3 separate regions of the Homo sapiens genome follow, and all the other regions are linked to region 1. Evidence: promoter capture Hi-C in human tissues and cell types (Jung and others, 2019). All regions are on one chromosome and are shown on one strand. Each heading gives the region's core, a stretch centred on a gene start or on the middle of the fragment in contact. The rest is flanking DNA. Distances are from core to core; before and after follow the strand shown.

Region 1 (3,334 bases), core at 256-2,755:
CCCCTGCTGCCGCGAAGGGCAGAGTCAGGGCCAGCAAGAGGTCGGCCAGGGCCAGCTGGAGCAGGTGGGCAGAGGTGGGCGAGCGCGCTGCGCGTCGGGCTGCCAGGTGGGTGGCCAGGACCAGGCCATTGCCGGCCAGACCCAGCGCAGCCACGGTCAGGGAGACACTGGGTTGGAAGGCCCGGCTGAAGGCCTGGACATCGGCCTTGTAGCAAAGCTCCGGCAGTGGCTCAGCCGAGTATGCGTCCTCTTCATCCCCAGAGTAATGGCCCCAGGAAACCTGGGAGGGTCAAATGAGAGGCGGGATCTTATGAGACACATCTGACCACACAACTCCCCCGCCCACACTTGCCTTCCAAGCTGAGAGCTCCTGTGTGGCCAGATGTAACAGTACACGGGGAGACATAAGCTCTTCTCCAGACTCTTCCTAGCACACCTTCAGCAGGCCTTGGCTTCCCTTGCACCCCTCCTACCTCTGCTTCCAGCTTCCTGGGTGACCTTGAGCAAGCCACTTGCTCTTTCTAGACCTCAGTTACCTAACCTGTAATGTTGAGATTATAAATCCTGACCAGCCCACCTCTCAAGGTTTGCTGTGAAGATGGCAATATGGAAAATAATGGATGGGGAGAACCTGTGTTCTCCAAAGGCCATAATACAAAGTTTGTATTATTATTATTATTTATTATTATTATTATTGGAGACAGAGTCTTGCTCTGTCGCCCAGGCTGGAGTGCAGTGGCACGATCTCGGCTCACTGCAACCTCCGCCTCCGGGTTCAAGAGATTCTCCTGCCTCAGCCTCCCAAGTAGCTGGGACTACAGGCGCCCACCACCACGCCCAGCTAATTTTTGTATTTTTAGTAGAGATGGGGTTTCACCATGTTGGCCAGGATGGTCTCGAACTCCTGACCTCAGGTGATCCGCCCACCTTGGCCTCCCAAAGTACTGGGATTACAGGCCTGAGCTACCACGCCCAGCCCAAAGTTTGTATTATTAATAAATCCTACAGCTTCAGTTCCCTTTGCAGCGCCCTCTCCTGGAAGGATGCCCATATGCAGGCTTTGCCTCAGACCTGAGCCCTGGACTCCAACCTCCGTCTGGAGTGGGTTTCTGTTTCTCTTCTTTCCCTTCCATACCCACCTTCCCTGTACCTCCAATACCAGCACACTGAACCACTCATGCCAAGGGGGTCTCCAGGGTTGGGACTCAGGTTTTCAGGGCCCAGGTGGGACCCTGGACCTCTAGGTTCAACCCGCCTTTCCCCTCAGCCCTAGTCCCTGTCCCACAACCCCAGCCTCACACCACCAGCCCATTTATCTGGAGGACCCCTAGTCTGAGACAGCGCCAAGAATCCTGAATAAGCCATAGGATGGCAGAGGCCCATTGCCAGGTGGGGAATCCCATTCCTTCCCTGTCTCCTCCCTCTCTGTAACCCTTCTCCCCCTCCCTGCCCCCACTCCCACCTGCTCTGTGGCCTCCGTCCCCATCTCTGGCTACACAGGTTTCTGAGGTATAGCCACAGGGGGTAGAAGTTAAACTACTAGCGGGACAGGAAGGAAGAGGCGGGGAGAGGGGCCGAGAGGGAGGTGGGGATTAGGGTCTACGGGGTCACTTTCCCATTCCACCTCCTCCAAAAGACTTCACTCTCTTGTGCAGGATCTGGATTTTACGAAAAAAAAAAAAAGAAGAAGAAAGGAAGGAAAGAGGAAAGAAAGAAAGAAAGAAAGAAAAAAAGGAAGGAAAGAAAGAAAAAAGAATGAACGAAAGAAAGAAAAAATAATTTACTGTCTTTGTCAGTGAAGAAAGAACGGGCTTCGGAATATAATCATTTGCTGTGTGATATTGACTAAGTTTCTTGACCTCTCTGAGCCTGAGGTTTTTCATCTGCAAAGTGGAGTAGGGCAAAAATGCTAAATTCACAGTGCCCAGCACCACTCCTAGAGCATAATTTGCCTTCCGAAAATGTTAAGATTCTTTTACTTACCCTTCATTCCATTTCCAGGCACCCCTCCCCCAAACCACCTCCCTTTTCTTGAAATTTTCAGGATGCTTCTGGCCCTAGGTTCCCTGTCCTCACTCCTGTGGCCCTAGTCCCGGGCAGCCTCGGGTTACTTGGGGTTTTCCCGGTGGCGAGAGGCTCTCTACCCCCGCCCTTTCGCAGCAGGGCTGAGGCACGCGCTTGCGCGGGGTCCGGGAAACCGGCGCGTGCCAGGAGACAGAGGCTGGGGAAGGGGGGAGGTGAGAGGAAAGAGGGTGGAAAGGAGAGGATAGAGAGAGAAGAGCGGAGGACCAGGAACCAGAGAGAGAGAGAGAGAAAAGAGAGAGGAGAGACAGAGCGCTTGGGGGCGAAAGGAGAGAGGGAGGGAAGGGTGGGTAAGGAGGAGAGAGCGGTCTGCTGCAAACCCCAGGAGGAGAGCTTGGAGCCCAAGCCAGAACTCGAGCCCTAGCCGGAGCCGTTCACAGGGAGGCGGCTGCCGGGACCGTCAGCCCTGCATGATGCATCTCCGGCTCTTCTGCATCCTGCTCGCCGCGGTCTCAGGAGCCGAGGGCTGGGGCTACTGTGAGTGTTGGGCTTGGAGGCAGGTGGGGTTGGGCCCAGGAGTCCAGAGCCTGCAGGGCGGCCCCGAACCGCATTGCGGCTGGGTGGTCGCGGGTCCTTCCCGGCCGGCGCGCGCCCGCTGGCTCTCATCTTTTCCTGCCTCTCCCCCGCGCTCCGCATTGCAGCTCTGAGGCTGCCGCGCGCGCCCGGGGCTGGGGCTGGGCTCTGGGAAGAGGATGAAGTCAGCGGGCAGGGATTTGGGGTTGGGATCCAAGCAGGAGCTGGTGCCTGGGTTTGAGGCTAGGGCTGGGGGATAAGTGTATACTGGTGACCGATACTAGGATTAAGGTTTTGCCAGGGCTTAAGGCTGGACTTTGGAGCTGGCCAAGGGGTGGGGTTTGTGGCTAGGGCTGGGGTTTGTGGCTGGGGCTGGGTTTTGTGGCAGGGATCCAAGCAGGAGCTGGTGCCCCTGACTGATGCTAAGGCTGGACATGGAGCTGGTGATGGTGCTAGCACTGGCTGAGGTTGGGTGCAAGGCCTGTATTTGGGGATGGTGCAGGTTTTGGGGGCCGAGTTGGATTGAGGCTAGGGTTGGAGCTGGATTGGTGTCTTGGGTTGACTTAGGTTGTGGAAGATGCTGAGGTTTAGGATTGAGTTTGGGAAAGTACTAAACCAGGGCAGGTATTGGGCTAGCTAGGGAGGGTCTGGCCTTGGGCCTATAGGTGTAGCCTAGGGGTTTGCCTAGAAGGAGAAGGTAGCCTCCTCTGAGCATGCAGCTGTTGCTGCAGCCAGGATT
Region 2 (3,334 bases), core at 1-2,500, 110 kb before region 1:
GTGGGTACTGCCTGACCCTGCCCTCTCTTCCTCCCAACATCCTGGCCTGTCTGAAGGTGGAGAAAGCCTGGGCCCTCTTGCAGAAGCGCATTCCCAAGACTCATCAGGCCCTCGACTGAAAAGTTCTCAGTGGGGCCAGACTGGCTCCTGGAGCTGACAAGCGACCCCGTGGTGAGGAGAAATGGGGGCCTTGATGCTCACCCTGGTTCAGGCCCAGAGGTCCAAGCTATACTGTGCAGGACATGGCCAGGCCTGGTGGACACAGGAAGCCTACCCAACACGCTGGTATTTGGCCAACACTGAGGATGTGGTTCATGGGGGAGCAGTCCCCTCCCCACTCTTGCCCATGGGTGACTCTTACCCACAGCTGACTAGGGCCAGCGCAAATACTGGAACCTGTAACAGAATTAAAGGTGAATGTTCTGAGATGTTGCTTGTATGGTGTCTGCTTCCTGTTCCAATGCCCCTAAGTATCTTTGGGATCCTTAAGCCACAAGTGCAGGGCCCAGGCCTGAGCTGGAAGCCTGGGCAATGCAGTGGTTAAGAGAATGGCCTTTGAGGCTAGCCAGAGGCGAGCTTTGGCCCTCCCACTGACCAGCTGTGTTCTTCTGAGTAAGGTGTAGACTTTCTAGGTACTGCCGTGTTTTATTGTTTTTGTTTTGTTTTTAATATGAGAGGCCGCATAACCTAGCTAGCAGGTTCTTTGCAAGGGTTCATTCCACATGCATCCTGCCAGACACTGGGCTGGGTGTTGGAAGATCAGCCTTCCGCGCGCCAGGCGGGGCCTCTGCCCTCACAGAGCTTGCAGCCTGGTGGGGTCGGACGATGTGGCTGGGGGCTTCTCTGCCCGGTTCCTGACACACCGGCCAGCAGTGCAGGTCCGGTGAGCGCGGGGAGGCCGCCCTCAGGGTAACGTGGGGAGCCGGCCGGCCGGACAGTGCGCGTGCACACACTATCTGCGGCGGTGTGCTGACAAGCCAATTGAGGGGACTCCATCTTACAAAACGCGCTTCATGTCGCCGCCATTCCACTGCCTAACCCGGGGAGGGCAGGCACGGCGGGGAGCAGTCTCGAAGGAGGCTGGCGCCAGGCCAAGCGCCGGGCCTTGACGGCTGGAACCGTGGAGTAAAGTCTTTGGGCTGCGCATGCGCGATGCTTCGCCCTGCCCCACCTCTCGGTCGCGGATTGGCGGGCGCGGGTCACGTGGGCACGCCACCCGCTTCCTCGCCGCAGGGGGCCCGCCCGCTGGCCCGTTTCCGGTCCGGTGGGTACAAGATGACGGAGCCGGGCGCCTCTCCCGAGGACCCTTGGGTCAAGGCAAGCCCCGTGGGCGCGCACGCCGGCGAGGGGAGGGCGGGTCGGGCTCGTGCACGTAGGGGGGCCGGAAGACGAGGGGCTTCCCTCCTGTCCCCAAAGTCCCCCACGCTCTCCGTGCCCCGGGGCTGCAGAGAAGACAGCTCTCACCCCGCGTGTGCCAAGGTGGGGAGACAAACGAGGCGTGTGCGCGCGAGTCGGGGGAACGGGGCACTGGGGTGGAGTAGGGGCGGAAGGGATCATACACAGGGGAGGCACTCGCACGCCCTAGCCTGTGCCAGTCTCGGGGGACTCATTAAGCTGCCCGCGCACCCCGGGCTGTGTGTGTGCAAGCGCGCAGGGTGACAGAGGCGCCTTCCCGGAATGGGGGGCGCGCTGTGCGTGCCTGCAGTGGAAGGGGCGCCTCCCCCTAGGGGCGGAGGTCTGACGGGCCCTTCCCGTGCTCTGTGCCGCAGGTGGAGTATGCCTACAGCGACAACAGCCTGGACCCCGGTGAGTAGCTGCCCCATCTTAAGCTCTAGAGGGACACTCCCGCCCAGGCTCTCTAGATTCTTGTGGCGTTGCCAACCACGCCTGAGCACAGTCCACTCTCCCTGAGCAGAGTTCCTGGCTTGAGACAGCAGGAGCTGAAGGACAAGGGCAGAAAACAACTGAGGGTGACACCTAGTTCCCTCTGCTCTGGAACAGGGAAGTGGTGGAACTGATCACTCACCACTCAGTGGAGCAGCTGATCACTCACACCCTCATCACGTCCACATGCCCGTTTGTGAGCCAGGGGGGTATCATGCAGGCCTATGGAGCAGTGTAGACACTAGGGAGCAGAGCACTGCAGCGTGGTCTGGCAGGAAGTGGGGGGCCCAGTATGGTTGGCTTTGGGTTGAAGGGAAGAGGTCAGCATTTAAGAAAGCCATTGTGTGGCCGGGCGCGGTGGCTCACCCCTGTAATCCCAGCACTTTGGGAGGCCGAGGCAGGCGGATCACGAGGTCAGGAGACCGAGACCATCCTGGCTAACACGGTGAAACCCCGTCTCCACTAAAAAATACAAAAAAATTAGCCGGGCGTGGTGGCGGGCGCCTGTAGTCCCAGCTACTCGGGAGGCTGAGGCAGGAGAATGGCGTGAACCTGGGAGGCGGAGCTTGCAGTGAGCCGAGATCGCGCCACTGCACTCTAGCCTGGGCGACTGAGCGAGACTCTGTCTAAAAAAAAAATAAATAAATAAAAGAAAGCCATTGTGTCCTACAGGTGTCTGAGGGTCTGGCAATGTTCCCCACCCCACCCCTTAGTGATTGGGGCCTCTCTTTTCCAGGGCTTTTTGTAGAAAGCACCCGCAAGGGGAGTGTAGTGTCCAGAGCTAATAGCATCGGTTCCACCAGTGCCTCTTCTGTCCCCAACACAGGTAGGCAGTAACATCCCCCCCGACCTCGGGGGGCTCAGATATGTCATAATTGTAGTACCTTTCCTAGACAGGGAAGCCCCAGCCATCCACACAGGGGTGCTGGAGCCAAAGTATCAGACACAAGGTCTCACCATCTTTCACCTCATCTGGAACATTAGGTGGTTCTGTCCATCTGCCTTCTCTGGACACCAGGTTCTTCCCAGCTGGGGAAAGGTGGGCTAGCTGGACCCCACTGGGCCCCAAGATGACCTTTCCCTGCCCCCATCTCTGAGCGTAGATGATGAGGACAGTGATTACCACCAGGAGGCCTACAAGGAGTCCTACAAAGACCGGCGGCGGCGCGCACACACTCAGGCTGAGCAGAAGAGGAGGGACGCCATCAAGGTGAACAGGGAGGCCTGTGCCTCAGCCAGTGCGGGAGGGCCCTGCATAGTTTAGCTTCCCTGTGCCCTGACCCACTCAGACAGTCCCAGGCACCCTAGGGGGTGGGCAGGTAGTATAGTCCCAGGCACAAACACCTCCCTTGCAGCCTTCCCACCCCATTGAGTTTGTGAGCATAGAACTTGGTGTCATGGAGGAACTTTGTGCCATTTTGCTTTAATCTCTCAGGGTTAAAGAACCCAT
Region 3 (3,334 bases), core at 293-2,792, 95 kb before region 1:
CACTGAGCCATAAATGGAAATTACACAACAAATCATGCGAGGTTTTGATATACAAAAGCCACAGGCATAAGTACTTAGTTCTTCCAGCCCCAAGCAAGCTGAGTACATGCCAACAGGAAGTAACTAAATTTACAAAACTATGCTCCAAGTGGGAAAAAAGTACTCTGGCATAAATAGAACCTAGCAGAGAAACCCCTAAGAGTTATGTTCTGCTGACAATACCCTGGCTCTAAAAATTCTCTCCTTAAACAGGGACAGGCAGTCCTTTATAGTTGGTAATACCAACAATATATGTTAGTGGACCCTCATCAATTTCTGACTTGGTAAGAAATGAACTTTGTATGTGGAGAGCCTGCTAAAGAAGGATATTTTCATGACACTAAACAGGTCATGAAAATATGCAAAGGTCATATCCTAGAGAATTGAAATATAACAGTCCTCTCCCCACACCTAGAGTTAGCCATAGTTGGAAAGCTATGAGCAGGGTATACTTTGTAGGGGAGGTATATGTCATACTTACGCATCAAGTAGGACAGCAGAAGCCCAGGGACGTAGCGGCCCAAGACAGCCAAAAAGGTCAGTATCCCACAGCTCAGCAAGCAGAACTGGGGAATCAAGAAAGAGTATTAAGTTTCTGTCACATGGCAGGGGACTGGGGTGGGTGTGAAGGGTTAGGGTAGAGATATGACAGAAAGACTCTGTAAGTCAAGCATGGACGTGCAGCCACTGTTGCATCCAAAGGTGATTCTGTTTGGGAAGAAAAGGAGCATGTCCCCTTCTATTCAAACTCCTTTTACATGGCTAACCCCATAGGGCTGCACCTTTCCTGCCAAGAAATTGGTTTGAATAGGACTTAGCCAAAAATTCTCTCTGAAAGCAATGTTGGTGGTGGTTTTTTAAGTCAACAGAAACACACACAAAACCCAAAAAAACACAACAACCTATCACATATTTAATATGACACAGAATGTACACAAGAAAGCTTTCTTTCCTATCTTGAAGCAAGAAAACGGCCTCATCTAAGTGGCAACCACACCAAATGAGCAGTCACCAAGCTCCTGTGTTAGTCCTAATGGCTGGTCAGAAGGCCTTTCCTATAGCTTCCTTTTGTCTCTATGAACATCATAGTCTTTACTTTCTTGAATGAAGACACATAGTAAAGGAGCTGTTTCAGTTTAGCATGAACTGAACTGAGAGGCCAGAGATGAAAGTGAAAAAGGGAAGAGTCTTACCTTGCCTGGGTTTTGCTTTTTGAAAAGCAAAACATTCCTTATGAAAATGGTCCCACTAACCCAGACTTCAGCTACATGGTGGCAGAGCTCGGGCACGCTGAGCAACCGAGGGTGCACAAAGCCCCAGCTATGGGAGAGAGAAGGGGGAGCTGTGAAAGGAGGGTGTTGAGGGTCCCCCCATCTTGCTGTGCAGGCAGCCAGTGCTTCCGGTTTTAAATGGGGTTTGGGGAGTGACTAGGCCCAGGTGCTTTGGAGGTGAAGCATGACTTTCTTCTTGGCTCACCAGGTTGAAATCTGAATTTAGGTACAAGGAGGACAAACTTGTTCTGACAACTCCACCCTATGAGCAAGCAGCCCAATCCACGTGTGTAAACCTGTCCCCAGCTCCAAGGCCCTTTGTGCTTAGAAACGTTTTCTTCCTTGCACTCAGACCATTCCAATTCCCTGTGATTGCAATCCAGGGATAAAAGTGAGCATAGTCTGACTGACACCACTGCTGCTAAGGGGGAGGAAATGGTGGATGTGCCCCTTAGAAAGAAAATAAATAAAGCAAAACCAAAATAAACCACAGCAGAGAAAATTCTTTGGATCAAACAAATGGAGTGGATGAACTGAGAAATGAAAGCAGGAGCTGTAAGACACAAGAGGAATCTTTGGCTTTGACTTGCTGATGCCAGGAACCAATGTGTTTTCTGACCGGGAACTTTAAATAGCCAGAGGTCACAGAAAACACTAAATGACCTGGTATAAAAGCCAGGAGACAAATGAAGTTAGCTGCCTTTAAGTTTTCTCACTGGGACTGAATAATGCAGCTGATTCCCTGGCATGTCAGGTTATGGGGCACTGTAATGCTTCTTTTTCAGAAACTTCTCTTGTAAAGATCAGAGGACACAGGCCATCTCAACATATTGCTGCCTGAACTTTAGGATGTGTTAAAATGATCATTTGGAACAGCCTAGGTTCTCAGTTTACACTGTGTGTCCAGAACATGGGGTTAACAACATGTAACCAGAATATTACAAGAGAATGAATCAGAGCAACAAAAAGGGATTTAATTAGTGTTCCATACCTCTCATTGTCTAATGCGTCGGGTCTTGGCACTACAATATTAAAACAAACACCAGCATTAGTTGGTAGGGAAAACTAAACATGAAAATGTTAGGCTGTTGGTCTGACAGCTCAAGTTTTAATAGGTTGGGGAAAAGAAAACAGTAATAGCCGATAAAAAAGGAGACACTGTGTTATACTGCCAGTTAGGGAGCTGCAGACAAGGGAATAATCACTTATGCCTACTCATTTTTCGAGGGGAAGGAAGGGAGGTCCAAATGGACTATTTGAGCCCCCTTCTAATGACCTCAGCTGAAAGCCAAGGTGTACAAGAAAAATGGTCCATCTCACCCCTTGAGTGTGTCTGGGATACCCATACACATCAATCTGTGCCAGGCTACACAAGGTACGTTGTAACAACTCCAACCCTAGAAATCCACCTGTTGTGTTTATTTTTTTTGAGACAGAGTCTTCTCGCTCTGTTGCCCAGCCTGGAGTGCAGTGGCACGATCTTGGCTCACTGCAAGCTCCGCCTCCCATTCTTCTGCCTCAGCCTCCTGAGTAGCTGGGACTACAGGCACCCACCACAATGCCCGGCTAATTTTTTTTTTTTTTGGAGACAGGGTCTTGCTCTGTAGCCCAGGCTGGAGTGCAGTGGCGTGATCTCAGCTCACTCAGCCTCCCGAGTAACTGGGATTACAGGCACACGCCACCATACCTGGCTAATTTTTGTGTTTTTAGTAGAGATGGGGTTTCACCATGTTGGCCAGGCTGCTCTCGAACTCCTCCACCTCCCAAAGTGCTGGCATCACAGGCGTGAGCTACCGTACCCAGCCGAAATCTGCCTGTTCTCTTTATTTTTTTGAGACAGAATCTCACTCTGTCACCCAGGCTGGAATGCAGTGGCACGATCTTGGCTCACTACAACCTCCACCTCTGGTGTTCAAGCAATTCTCCTGCCTCAGCCTCCCAAGTAGCTGGGATTATAGGCACCTGCCACCACGCCTGGCTATTTTTGTGTTTTTAGTAGAGACAGGTTTTTGCTATGTTGGCCA

What was found. The method cuts DNA at HindIII sites, captures the fragments that hold promoters and counts their contacts. A contact is called where the count stands out against the background at its distance.
Region 2: the fragment with the promoter of MLX here is called in contact with the fragment with the promoter of CCR10 in region 1 in 1 of the 25 tissues and cell types used here (dorsolateral prefrontal cortex).
Region 3: a contact is called between a fragment that was not itself captured here and the fragment with the promoter of CCR10 in region 1, in 2 of the 25 tissues and cell types used here (dorsolateral prefrontal cortex and lymphoblastoid cells).

What each region holds. Positions count from the first base shown.
Region 1 is chr17:42,680,338-42,683,671 of GRCh38, forward strand. It overlaps CCR10 (C-C motif chemokine receptor 10), which reads right to left and starts at 1,506. Exons shown (of 2, transcript NM_016602.3): 1 at 1,463-1,506; 2 at 1-280. The coding sequence starts at 1,486. CNTNAP1 (contactin associated protein 1) reads left to right here and starts at 2,194. Exons shown (of 24, transcript NM_003632.3): 1 at 2,194-2,559. The coding sequence starts at 2,493. RefSeq lists enhancers at 1-508, 1,727-2,345, 2,289-2,338, 2,599-2,648 and a silencer at 894-1,188. The HindIII fragment of the contact is 6,302 bases long and covers 1-3,334 here.
Region 2 is chr17:42,565,850-42,569,183 of GRCh38, forward strand. It overlaps MLX (MAX dimerization protein MLX), which reads left to right and starts at 1,251. Exons shown (of 8, transcript NM_198204.2): 1 at 1,251-1,317; 2 at 1,770-1,806; 3 at 2,621-2,710; 4 at 2,988-3,094. The coding sequence starts at 1,276. It overlaps COASY (Coenzyme A synthase), which reads left to right. Exons shown (of 9, transcript NM_025233.7): 9 at 57-428. The coding sequence ends at 119. RefSeq lists enhancers at 1-9, 10-516, 723-772, 1,530-2,037, 1,913-2,002 and a silencer at 1,113-1,512. The HindIII fragment of the contact is 10,895 bases long and covers 1-3,334 here.
Region 3 is chr17:42,585,533-42,588,866 of GRCh38, forward strand. It overlaps RETREG3 (reticulophagy regulator family member 3), which reads right to left. Exons shown (of 9, transcript NM_178126.4): 3 at 2,302-2,332; 4 at 1,233-1,359; 5 at 521-605. Among named protein-coding and RNA genes, the nearest start is that of PSMC3IP, 9.5 kb to the left of the region's middle. The HindIII fragment of the contact is 8,959 bases long and covers 1-3,334 here.